Linked DNA regions of Homo sapiens: regions 2, 3 and 4 are each linked to region 1. The links are contacts of gene promoters, found by promoter capture Hi-C in blood cells and fetal thymus (Javierre and others, 2016). All regions are on one chromosome and are shown on one strand. The core of a region is centred on a gene start or on the middle of the fragment in contact, and the rest is flanking DNA. Distances in the headings are between cores, read along the strand shown. Region 1 holds the start of FBXO4 (F-box protein 4). Region 2 overlaps ZNF131 (zinc finger protein 131). Region 3 overlaps TTC33 (tetratricopeptide repeat domain 33). Region 4 overlaps ANXA2R-OT1 (ANXA2R overlapping transcript 1).

Evidence for each region. Contacts are between HindIII fragments. The CHiCAGO score rates a contact against its expected background, and 5 or more counts as called.
Region 2: a contact is called between a fragment that was not itself captured here and the fragment with the promoter of FBXO4 in region 1, in 2 of 17 cell types (monocytes and naive CD8 T cells). The highest score is 7.9, in monocytes.
Region 3: a fragment that was not itself captured here is called in contact with the fragment with the promoter of FBXO4 in region 1 in 1 of 17 cell types (total CD4 T cells); the score reaches 5.1 in total CD4 T cells.
Region 4: a fragment that was not itself captured here is called in contact with the fragment with the promoter of FBXO4 in region 1 in 2 of 17 cell types (total B cells and erythroblasts); the score reaches 5.9 in total B cells.

The regions. Positions count from the first base shown.
Region 1 is chr5:41,923,953-41,926,620 of GRCh38, reverse strand. It overlaps FBXO4 (F-box protein 4), which reads right to left and starts at 1,340. Exons shown (of 7, transcript NM_012176.3): 1 at 1,123-1,340. The coding sequence starts at 1,311. RefSeq lists a silencer at 903-1,082. The HindIII fragment of the contact is 6,278 bases long and covers 1-2,668 here.
Region 2 is chr5:43,122,902-43,125,569 of GRCh38, reverse strand. It overlaps ZNF131 (zinc finger protein 131), which reads right to left. Exons shown (of 7, transcript NM_001330707.2): 3 at 2,260-2,361. Among named protein-coding and RNA genes, the nearest start is that of ZNF131, 3.3 kb to the right of the region's middle. The HindIII fragment of the contact is 1,119 bases long and covers 761-1,879 here.
Region 3 is chr5:40,752,002-40,754,669 of GRCh38, reverse strand. All of the region lies in intron 1 of TTC33 (tetratricopeptide repeat domain 33), which reads left to right. Among named protein-coding and RNA genes, the nearest start is that of TTC33, 2.6 kb to the left of the region's middle. The HindIII fragment of the contact is 2,153 bases long and covers 265-2,417 here.
Region 4 is chr5:43,048,642-43,051,309 of GRCh38, reverse strand. All of the region lies in intron 2 of ANXA2R-OT1 (ANXA2R overlapping transcript 1), which reads left to right. Among named protein-coding and RNA genes, the nearest start is that of ANXA2R-AS1, 7.8 kb to the right of the region's middle. The HindIII fragment of the contact is 199 bases long and covers 1,235-1,433 here.

The sequences.
Region 1 (2,668 bases), core at 91-2,590:
TTATCATCAGACCAAATCAAAGAGTGTACATTTGTCTTTTTCTTTTTTGAGACACAGTCTCGCTCTGTCGCCCAGGCTGGAGTGCAGTGGCAAGATCTCGGCTCACTGCAAGCTCCGTCTCCCAGGTTCACGCCATGCTCCTGCCTCAGCCTCCCAAGTAGCTGGGACTACAGGCGCCTGCCACCAAGCCCGGCTAATTTTTTATATTTTTAGTAGAGACGGGGTTTCACCGTGTTAGCCAGGATGGTCTTGATCTCCTGACCTCGTGATCCGCCCACCTGGGTCTCCCAAAGTGCTGGGATTACAGGCGTGAGCCACCGCGCCCGGCCGTAAATTTGTCATCTTAGTTCCTCTACAGAATCTATTAAAATGTTATGAAAAACCTCTGCAAGGAGAAACTTGGAGGCATTCTAAACCTGCAGCTTTCACGTTGATATACACATTGGAGAGAGGTGTCAATAGTCCAAATGAGACAAAGAATTGTAATAATTTTCAATAATTTTTGTTCTCTTCATTTACCTATCTACCCCAAAGTTTAACAATAAGTTATGTGTGTCATTCTCGTGGCCTTGATGTAACTTGAGGCACTTGTAACTTAAGTCATTTATTTTCAACTGAGGGGCCGTTTTGTTTCTTCAAATACACAATAACAGCCACAGGCACAATGTCCTCTTGAGAGGGTAAAAACCTTGGCCCTCCAAGTGTTTTGGTACAGTGATCCGGAATCAAAGACGCTGGGAACAGGGACGCTGGAATGCTTTCCCAAGCTAATCAGCAAGTTGGGAACTGTCTCATTTCCGTAACCGGACATTCAGGGTGTCCTAGTCACATGTGCCTGTTTTGGCGGGTGGAAAACCTGAGGGCGATCGGGAGGGTCCCCAGGGGCCCCATGAAGGTGCTTCCCTGAGATGTTCGGGCCCCCTGCGGAGCACCAGGGTCCACGCCAAGACGCTTCTGATCAACTGTAGCTTCTCGGTGACTACACTGCCAGGAATGGCTGCATGGACGGAGCCAGACCCAGGCCGGGGCGCGAGAGTTCCCCAGGCCCCGGGGGGCTCCAGGGGAGGTCCCTCCGGCCCGGGCCGGCCCCACTGTCCTCCGCGGCCTGCGGCCGACGCTCACCGGCAGCCGCGTCAGGGTGCTGGCCGCCTCATCCACCTCCTCCCGTGAGGTCGTACGCGCCACCCTCTCCTTGCTCACTGACTGCCAGAAGGTCTTCCAGCCGCTGAGGATGGCCGCCTCCAGGCGGCCCCAGTCGCTGAAGGGCGGCGGCGGCGAGTTTGTTCCGCTGCGCGGCTCGCTTCCCGCCATGGCTTGCCCGCAGCGTGGGTGACGCGTCTTAGAGCCACGCTAGCGCGTCAGCCTCCTGCGCAGCTCCGCGCCAGCCGAGGGCGCCCTCGGGCGTTCCGCCTCCCGCTTCTCCCGCGAGTCCGCCTCCAGGGCAGGGTTAGGCCCAGGGGCAAGGGCGGGTACTGGGAGGAAGCCCACTGTGCGTGGCTGTGAGCCGAGTACGAAGCTCCTGTCAACAATTAACTTCCCCAGTAACTTGTGGCCTCAACCTCAGCCACGCCAACCGCAGAGCCCCTGTACAACCTCTGGCCCGCTGACTTCCTGGCTTCATTCAAGATGTTCTCTCCGGGATCATTTCCACTATGCCTGGTCCTAGGCGACTCCGCTTGTTCGATAGACCTCTGCCACTGTCTTGGGCTTAATAACCACTTGCTTCCTTTTCAGCACTACCATACTACGTATGGGGTGTTTTTTGTGTGTGTTATTTCCTCAATCACCAAGTTACCATTTATTTTCTTGAGTATCAGCAAAAACAGACTAGAGAGGCAGTCAGCGGGCCAATTACAAAGAACCTTTTGCCAAAATGAGAAGTCTGGACCCACTATGCAAAAATATAAGCACATTTAAAATTTGCAAGGGCGGCAAAAAACGGCTAGAAGAACCCAGATGTGGTGGTGTTGAAATCCCACTAGTGAGTTTTTTAATTCTCAAACCAGATGCCCATTCTACTTACTTTGGGCTTACTTTAAAAGTGCTTTAAGAGAACGTATTACAAGTTAATCTGTTACATAGAACTGGGTATGTATACATTCAAAAAGTAAATCTCTGAGGATCTAAATGTCAACAGAATCCAAGAAAGCCTGATAACTAAGGTTCTGCAAGGCTCTGTAACATACAAGTTTAAGTTTCATTACATTTTATTATTTGCATGTTGTTGGTAGGGGCCAATAACCAATAAAATTGCAGCCTCGTTTTTGGGAGGCAATCTGGACAAGGACCACGGATTAACCATATGGCATTTCTCATCACTTTCTAGGACACGATTTACTTTGAGAGCAAAAAACGAACTAGAGCAAGAAAAAAAATCAGTTCAAGTATAAAGTATTAAAATGATATCTGTTAAATGAATGAGAAAAACTTTATTACGGAAAATTTTGAACATTTATAAAAGGAGAGTGAATAATATGCTCCTGTGTGCCCAGTATCCAAGATTCCATTACCAACACCTGGTTAATCTTGTGCTGTTGCTATACTCACCTAATACTACACCCCCAATTCTGGATCCTTTTGAAACAAATCCCAGACCTATCATCTGTAAATATCTCAGTATCCGTCCCTAAAAAAAACAGATTTTAAGAAACAGACCACTGTACCTAAG
Region 2 (2,668 bases), core at 71-2,570, 1.2 Mb before region 1:
ACCTCAGGTGATCTGCCTGCCTCGGCCTCCCAAAGTGCTGGGATTACAGGCGTGAGCCACCGCATCCGGCCAGGCCACTTATTTTTTAAGACTTAAAAATTCTGCTCAGACTTGGCCAGTCGTGGTCTCACGCCTGTAATCCCAGCACTTTGGGAGGAAGAGGCGGGTGGATCACCTGAGGTGGGGAATTCGAGACCAGCCTGATCACGCCATTGCACTCCAGCCTGGGTAACAAGAGCTAAAATCTATCTCCAAAAAAAAGAAAAAAAAAATTCTGCTCAGACTCAAAACTCCTCTTTGAAATCTTTCCTAAGGAAGACCAAACCACTCATTCTCCCTCTTCAGTGATACCATTTCACAGTAATAGTCTTTGTAATACTTTTTGCACTCCTTTATTTGCCTGTTGCTCACCTGTTATGAAATTTTCCGACTTCTTTAAGGGACATCTTATTCATTAATTCTTCATCTCCTGGGTCTAACATAGTACATGATATATTATAGATATTCAATATGATAAACTGACTTTTTTTTTTTTTTTTTGAGACAGGGCCTTGCTCTGTCGCCCAGGCTACAATGCAGTGGCAAAATCATGGCTCACTGCAGCTTTGACCTCCTGGGCCCCAGCAATCCTCCCGCCTCAGCCTCCTGAATAGCTGGGACCACAGGCATGTGCCATCAGACTCAGCTAATAATTTTTTAAATTTTTTGTAGAGAAGAGGTCTCCCTAATGTTTCTTAGACTGGACCCTGTTTATCAAGCTTTGACAAGGCACCAAATATCATGCCATGCACTCTGCATGTTATCGCAATTAGTCTTTATAATCCTATGAACCCACTTTTCAGATGAGGAGAAAAGTATGCAATTGAGGTAAAGTAACCCGCCTGGGGTCACATATTTAATAAACCTCAGGTGTGAATGAATTCATGGAGGCTTGCTTTGTAGTAGAAACCACTATCATCTGGGCAGTTAGATTCTCACTTTATTAAGTTTTGTGGATTTTCATAATTATGTCTCTGTCCTGATTATAGATATTAAAAGATACTCTAGCTGTAAATATATCAGCTATAATGCTAAACTGGAATATACCAAAATTAAAGAATATTCTTAACTCTTTTTTGTTTTCTTTACTCCCCTAGGCATCAAAGGGAAAAAAGGAGTTTCTAGGCAACCCATTCAGAACAAAGAATACGTACACAATGAAATAGATATAAAACCAAAACCCAAGAACCCTAAAAGAAGCTAAAATTCTGTAATTACGTAGGCAAACATTTATTTCCTGCTGTTTTAGATTTTGATGCTGGTGGTAGGGGAGGAGTTACTGCAGTAGCAGAAGAAAAAGCATGGTAATTAATAGCACAAACTTAATTCCTTGCTAGTTGGACAACCCTGGGCAAGTAACCTTTTAGAGCCTGCTTCCTGAAGTGTAAATTATTACAAATAACACCACTTCCCTTTTTGAAAAGAAAAGAAAAGAAAAGAAAAGACAGGGTCTATGTTGCCCCAGGCTGGCCTCGAACTCCTGGGCTCAAGCAATCCTCCTGCCTCAGCCTCCCGAGTAGCTGGGACTACAAGCACAAGCCATCCTGCCCAACATCAAACGATTGCTGTGAGCCTTAGACAATACACAAAACTACATATCACAACGCCTGGCACTTGGCAGGTTATTATTAGAAAAATGTCTAGAAAGTACAAAAATCACTTTTTGCTTCAAGGTAACAGGTATTGATCCATCCCATTGTAGAGCCAGAATTTCCTCTAAATGCTACTTCAGTTCATTTTTCCTAGCTTTCTCCCTATTATGGCAGCCCACTTCACACTGCATGTCATCTGTACCTCTGCTAATACATCACTACTTCTGCTATAGAGTACAGTAAAAGCTTCTACTGTAACCTGCAGCATCTCCAGCAGTCTGAAACATAAGCCCACTGAACAAAGATAGTAATTCACGTTTAATACTTGTTTTCAAAAAACAATGACCACCAGTTTCCACAATGGAAAAGACCAACATCTACCATCTAAGTTTTTCCTGGCAGATCATTCAACCAAGCACTTCACTGAAAGTAAGACTTCTCAGGTATCAAAAGAACAATTTATCTACCTTTACCTACAGGAACTACTGATGCCTATTTCCTATGGTGTCTTGATAAACTGTCTAAAACTGCTTCACCAATTGTTTGCTAAGTATTGTATTTAAAACAAGCATTTAAATAAAATGGCTTCTTTGATTTATTAAATAAAAAAACAACAAGAATCATTTACCTTCTATCTCCACCAATGGTTCTTGGGTAAACTCCTGAAAGAATTTGTAGAAGAACTTACTACAAGCAGCCAAAACAGCCTTGTGAGCCTTAAAATGGTGTCCTAGGTAAAATAAGAAAAAAAAAGAAAATCATACACAAGCACGAAAATCAAATGTATAACTACAAAATAGACTTAAAAATCATATAAAGCAAAATAGGTCTTCCTTCATTACGTAACTACAGAAATTATTGAACTAAATGCAGAATATTCTTGGCAGCTATCTTGGCAAATGTTAATCTCAATTAGATATAAAGCTAAATCTTCACTTCAAACCCCTTTAGTTTTATAAAGCCTAATTTACAACACTAGGTAAGGAGCCTCTTGACACTCTGTTGTTTCCAATTAAGTAGTGAGAAGCATATCCAAC
Region 3 (2,668 bases), core at 92-2,591, 1.2 Mb after region 1:
AAATTGACTGTACTCTGTGGTTTCCAGACACTTTTGAAGAAAATATAAAACTTTGCTAATGGCCTTGATAACAGATTCATGCTTTTACACAGTAGTGGGCCCTTGATACTACTGTTTGGTATCTCTATTTTTCCTTTGTTGCTTTTCCTTATCTCCACAGTGACTATTTTAGTCTTTTCCCTTTTTCTCAAGAACTCAGATCTGTTATTTTCCTTTTACTTTGAGCAGATGACTAGCCGCTGTTTGCTGGAGAAATGTGAAGCTTGGGGCATGAAATTCCTCATTTTCCTTTCCCTCCATCCCTGAACTTGCCTGTATGTTTCACTCAATATTAACTCCTTTTTTTGTCTGAGAGGACTGTATTTTTGTCTCCCTCTTTCAGGTTAAACTTGTCGATTGCTAGTGGCATCAGGCCTCCCACACCCTCATAACCTCAGTCTGTCCTGACCTCTGCAGCCCCTGATCTCTAGGTCTCAAGGGATCTGTGGAGGAGAATGGCTCAAACACCTGAGGCAATAGTGGCGTGGTTTTTTCACATATGGTTGAGAGCCACCACCTTGGGCCATAACTTATACTTGTCCCCAGCATTTATAACAGTGGTTTGGGTTGGAAGATGGGGAGGGTAATTGGAATCTGAATGACCTATTAATTTTAAAAGATGTGTGGGTCTGTTTCTCACTTTTTCCTTTCCTTCCCACCCTATCACAGCCCCTCATGTAATCTACAGATCTGATCAACGGTTTTTTTTTTTACTTTTTTTTCTTTTGATCAATGATTTTTATTGTAGTTTACCTCCAGTAAACACACTAGGTGTCCTTTAGTATGAGTAGGGTTCCCACAGTGCCTGGTGCCTCACCTTATGAATAAAGAAAGTTTCATTTGGAATCTTGAAACCGGAAAACGTGGTCATCATTCTTGTTACCATTAGGGATAATCATAAATACAAGACTTCTTTTTATCTTGTCTTACACTGATATCTTGTGAGTCTTTCCTAATGATCTGTATTTTCTCAGGTTGTCCTCACTGTGTGCCTTTTAACTTCTGTTCCATAGTATCCACACTTCTGTTTTCAGCCATCTTCCCCTACAATACTCATAGTCATCTTCAAACATGGGAAACTCATTCTCCTATAATATGATCGGCCTGGGGAGAGAGTTTGCATTGTCCTTATTCCCCAGCACAGTTTATAATCCATTAGTCCTCCAGGTTTTAAAAAAAATCTCAGTTCCTGTGGAAAGTTTGTGGTTCACTTATATTATCAGCCTGTATATTTCTTTCTTTCTTTCTTTCTTTCTTTTTTTTTTTGAGATGGAGTTTTGCTCGTGTCGCTCAGGCTGGAGTGCAATGGTGCAATCTCGGCTCACTGCAACTTCTACCTCCTAAGTTCAAGCGATTCTCCTGCCTTAGCCTCCCAAGTAGCTGGGATTACAGGCATGTGCCACCATGCCCAGGTACTTTTTGTATTTTTGTAGAGACGGGGTTTCACCATGTTGGCCAGGCTTGTCTTGAACTCCTGACCTCAGGTGATCCGCCTGCCTCTGCCTCCCAAAGTGCTGGGATTACAGGTGTGAGCCACCGCGCCCAGCCTGTATATTTCTTGATTGCTGTGATTTATTGGCACTCTCTCATATTCATTAAGAACTCAGACATACGACTCACAATTTTCTTACCCCTCCAAATTCTGCCATTACGGTAGGTCTTTCCATGTGAATGACCTCATAGCCACCCTCACTTTTTTTCTCACCTTCCTTCTAGTGATTACAGGGATCATTTTATTGTGCTTCACTTTATCACACTTCATAGATACTGCGTTTTTGCACATTGCAAGTGCTCAGTAACCCTGTGTCCAGCAAGTCTTTTCGTGCTATTTGTCCAATAGCATGTGTGCACTTAGTGTCTCTGTGCTACATTTTGGTAATTCTTGAAATATTTCAGATGTTTTAATTATTACTATATCTGTTATGGTGATCTGTAATCGATGATCTTTGGTGTTAACAATTGTAATCATTTTGGGTTGCCATGAACCATGCCCATATGAGATGGTGAACTTAATCAATAAATGTGTGTTTTGAATGCTGTACCACCAACTGGCTATTCCCATCTCTCTTCTTCTCCTTGGGTCTCCCTATTTCCTGAGACACAGCAATATTGAAATTAGGCCAGTTAATCCTACAATGCCCTCTAAGTGTCCAAGTGAAAGGAAGAGTTACACATCTCTCATTTTAAATCAAAAGCTAGAAATGATTTTAGGAAGACCTGTTGAAAGCCAATACAGGCTGAAAGCTAGGCCTCTTGCACCAAACAGCCAAGTGGTGAATGCAAAGGAAAAGTTCTTCAATGAAATTGAAAGTGCTACTTCAGTAAACACACAAATGATAAGAAAGCAAAAACCGCTTTATTGCTAATATGGAGAAGCTTTGAATGGTCTAGATAGATCAAACCAGCCACAATATTCCCTTAAGCAGGAGCCTCATTTAGAGCAAGTTTCTAACTCTCTTCAATTCTGTGAATGCTGAGAGAGGTGAAGAAGCTGCCAAAGTAAAGTTTGAAACTGCTAGAGGTTCGTTTGTGAGGTTTAAGAAGCCATTTTCATAACATGAAAGTGCAAAGTAAAGCAGCAAATGCTGATGTTATCCAGAAAAGATCTAGCTAAGATAATTGATGAAGT
Region 4 (2,668 bases), core at 85-2,584, 1.1 Mb before region 1:
CCTTGGCTCAAGCAATCCTTCCACCTCCACCTTCCAAGCAGCTGCAACCACAGGCGCATGCCTCCATGCCCAGCAAATTTTTGAACTTTTTGTAGAGACGGTGTTTCGCCTTTTGCCCAGGCTGGTCTCGAAGTCTTGGGCTTCAGCAATCCTCCCACCTCGACCTCCCAAAGTGCTGGGATTGCAGTTGCGAGCTCTGACACCCAGCCCATTGCCAGATATTACAGGAAACAAAAAATTCAAGATCCAGTCTAGATTTCAGGTAGACGAAAAAACCTCAAAAACAATGAGCTAGAGTCTAATAACAGGTGCACTATATTTTTTTCTCTGAAAGTTTTTTCTCTATACTTACTCCCTTTTTATCAAACATCATCAAAGTATTAGTAAGAGTAATCTGTTTGCAAAATAAATTTAGTGTCTTTAAAGTTGGCCTAATATTTACACAAGTGCAGCAGGAATAGTGTTTTACCACACAGGGTCTCTTTAAGTTGGCTTTTCTGGATCTTTTAATAAGGAATCTCAAATTAGACTTTTAAAAGCCTCTCAAGGCTAGGAAACCATACCAGGATCTTGCTATCACACTTTGCCTGGAATACCTATAGATTTCGGTGAATTCTTCCCTTGTCAAGGTCCTCCAAATATCCTGATGTTCCTCAGCCTGCCAGGAAGTGACATTTCTTACCCACCTGTAAGGCCAGGAACCCTTTTAAACCAGACCAGTTTCTCAAGTCTGAGTGTGTTGTTTCTGTTCCTAAAAACCACAAAAGAAAGAAAACAGTGATATTACATTCAACGTGGTAACAACTCTGAATCTTTGTTCTAACAGTGGAAATATAATATCTCTAGGGATTAAGCCCGGTCTCCAGAATGTACCCGGGCCATAGGAAAATAACATCCAGATGTTTTTTAACAGCACCTACAAGGACGAGCTGAGGGTTTCTCAGTATAGGGGAAACTGTCACAAGGTGTACCCTCTTTTCTTTTGAAGCAGTAAAAGCAGTTCTCATTCTTCCCCATTCTTTGTTCAAAGCATATGAGATATGAGCCAGCTTTATAGTTATTGTCATGCTACCTTACATGCATGTAAATCTGTTAAGGCTAATTCAATACTAGTGTTCTGTCTCTCTTCTGTTGGGTACACAGGGGTCTTTTTGTGTCAGGATTGTTTTATTTCTCCCACAGTGGATATATTCTTCCCCTTTCTTTCATCCTAAGTGGATTATTCTTAGAAGCTTATCCTAAGTGGATTATTCTTAGATAGGGCTTCCTAGAAGATGGTTCCATGTGATCAAGCAAACTGTTGTGTTCAAGGTAGGTTCAGTTAATAGTACCCAATGTTCATAAAAGTAGTGGGGGATTCTCTTTAAAAAAAAGAATAAAAATTTTGAGTACAAAATTACAGACCTGTTCAAACGGATCCTAAAAGCTAAGCTTCCTTAGCTGCATGGTAAATTCGCCTCTGACCCTGCGTGATACCCAGTATGGGCCAATAAGGTAGTGTTGCAGGAAACTGAGGACCAGAGAGACTGATATGGAGAACAGGAGGATTGTTTATTTTAGGTACGCACCGGCTCAGTGGATTTGCATCCAAAAAGCTGAGCCTAGAACAAAGACAGAGTGGGGTTTTTATAAGCTGGCTTACAAAAGTAAAACAAAAGCAGCTAATCATATGATAGGTCACATAATCTATAGCATAGCATAACTTGTGGCCTTGCATAGTCGGTGGTCTTGTGCCTGCATTGAAAGAAAAACAAGAACTGGCTAAATACAGACATTTGTAAAACATAATCTCGCTTAAGAAGCCTGGGAGAGGAGTAACAGTAAAAGAATTTGTCTTTCTTTTTTTTTTTTTTTCATTCAACCTTGCTCTGGAGCAGGGGCGGGTGTCTGGAGCCCATTCCTTTGGACTTGGCTTTCCGGACAGGGGTATCTTATAACTGTCTTTGAAGTGAGCTTGCTAGGCAGAGGAGAACTTGTTCTTTTCTTTTTAACCCTTGCCCTGCCTGTTACTTTTCTTGGAGTGAATGAATGCGTATTTATTTTTAAATTTTCTGCCTCAGTAGCACACCATTGAATTGTCTCTCACTCCTTCCTATTCTAATTACCCTGTCTTTTAACTCCCACTCTCTTAAAAAAACCACTTTTGAATTAAAAAGTGGCACATAAGTTTTCACTTTAGCTAATGCTTCCTGTGGAAGCCAGGCCAATAAAATATGCCTCTCTGTTTACCTTATATGCTTTGACTTTTTTCTTCTGCAGACTGAATCCTAAATAATTCAATCTGTATTGAAAAGATTATGAGGATGCCTACAAAAATAGAATGATTCAGGTCACTATTGACCTTTGAATGGCCCCGAATGAGACATGATGCCAGTATTTAATAAGTCTGCCTGAGCAGGGCAGAAAAATTAAAAGGCCCTTTTAAATATCAAGCAAGTATGAATATTTATATGCCTATTTTGTATATCACTCTTGTCAATCCCCCAATTTTTTGGTTAGCCAAGAGCTCTCATGATCACAGGTGATAAAAATTATAATGTATTAGCATATTGAATCCAGCAATATATGTTTTAAAAAATACATCATGATCCAGTGGGATTTATTCCATGAACTCAATATTGGTTTAGCACTTGAAAATCAGTTAATATTAGTCAACACATTAACATTA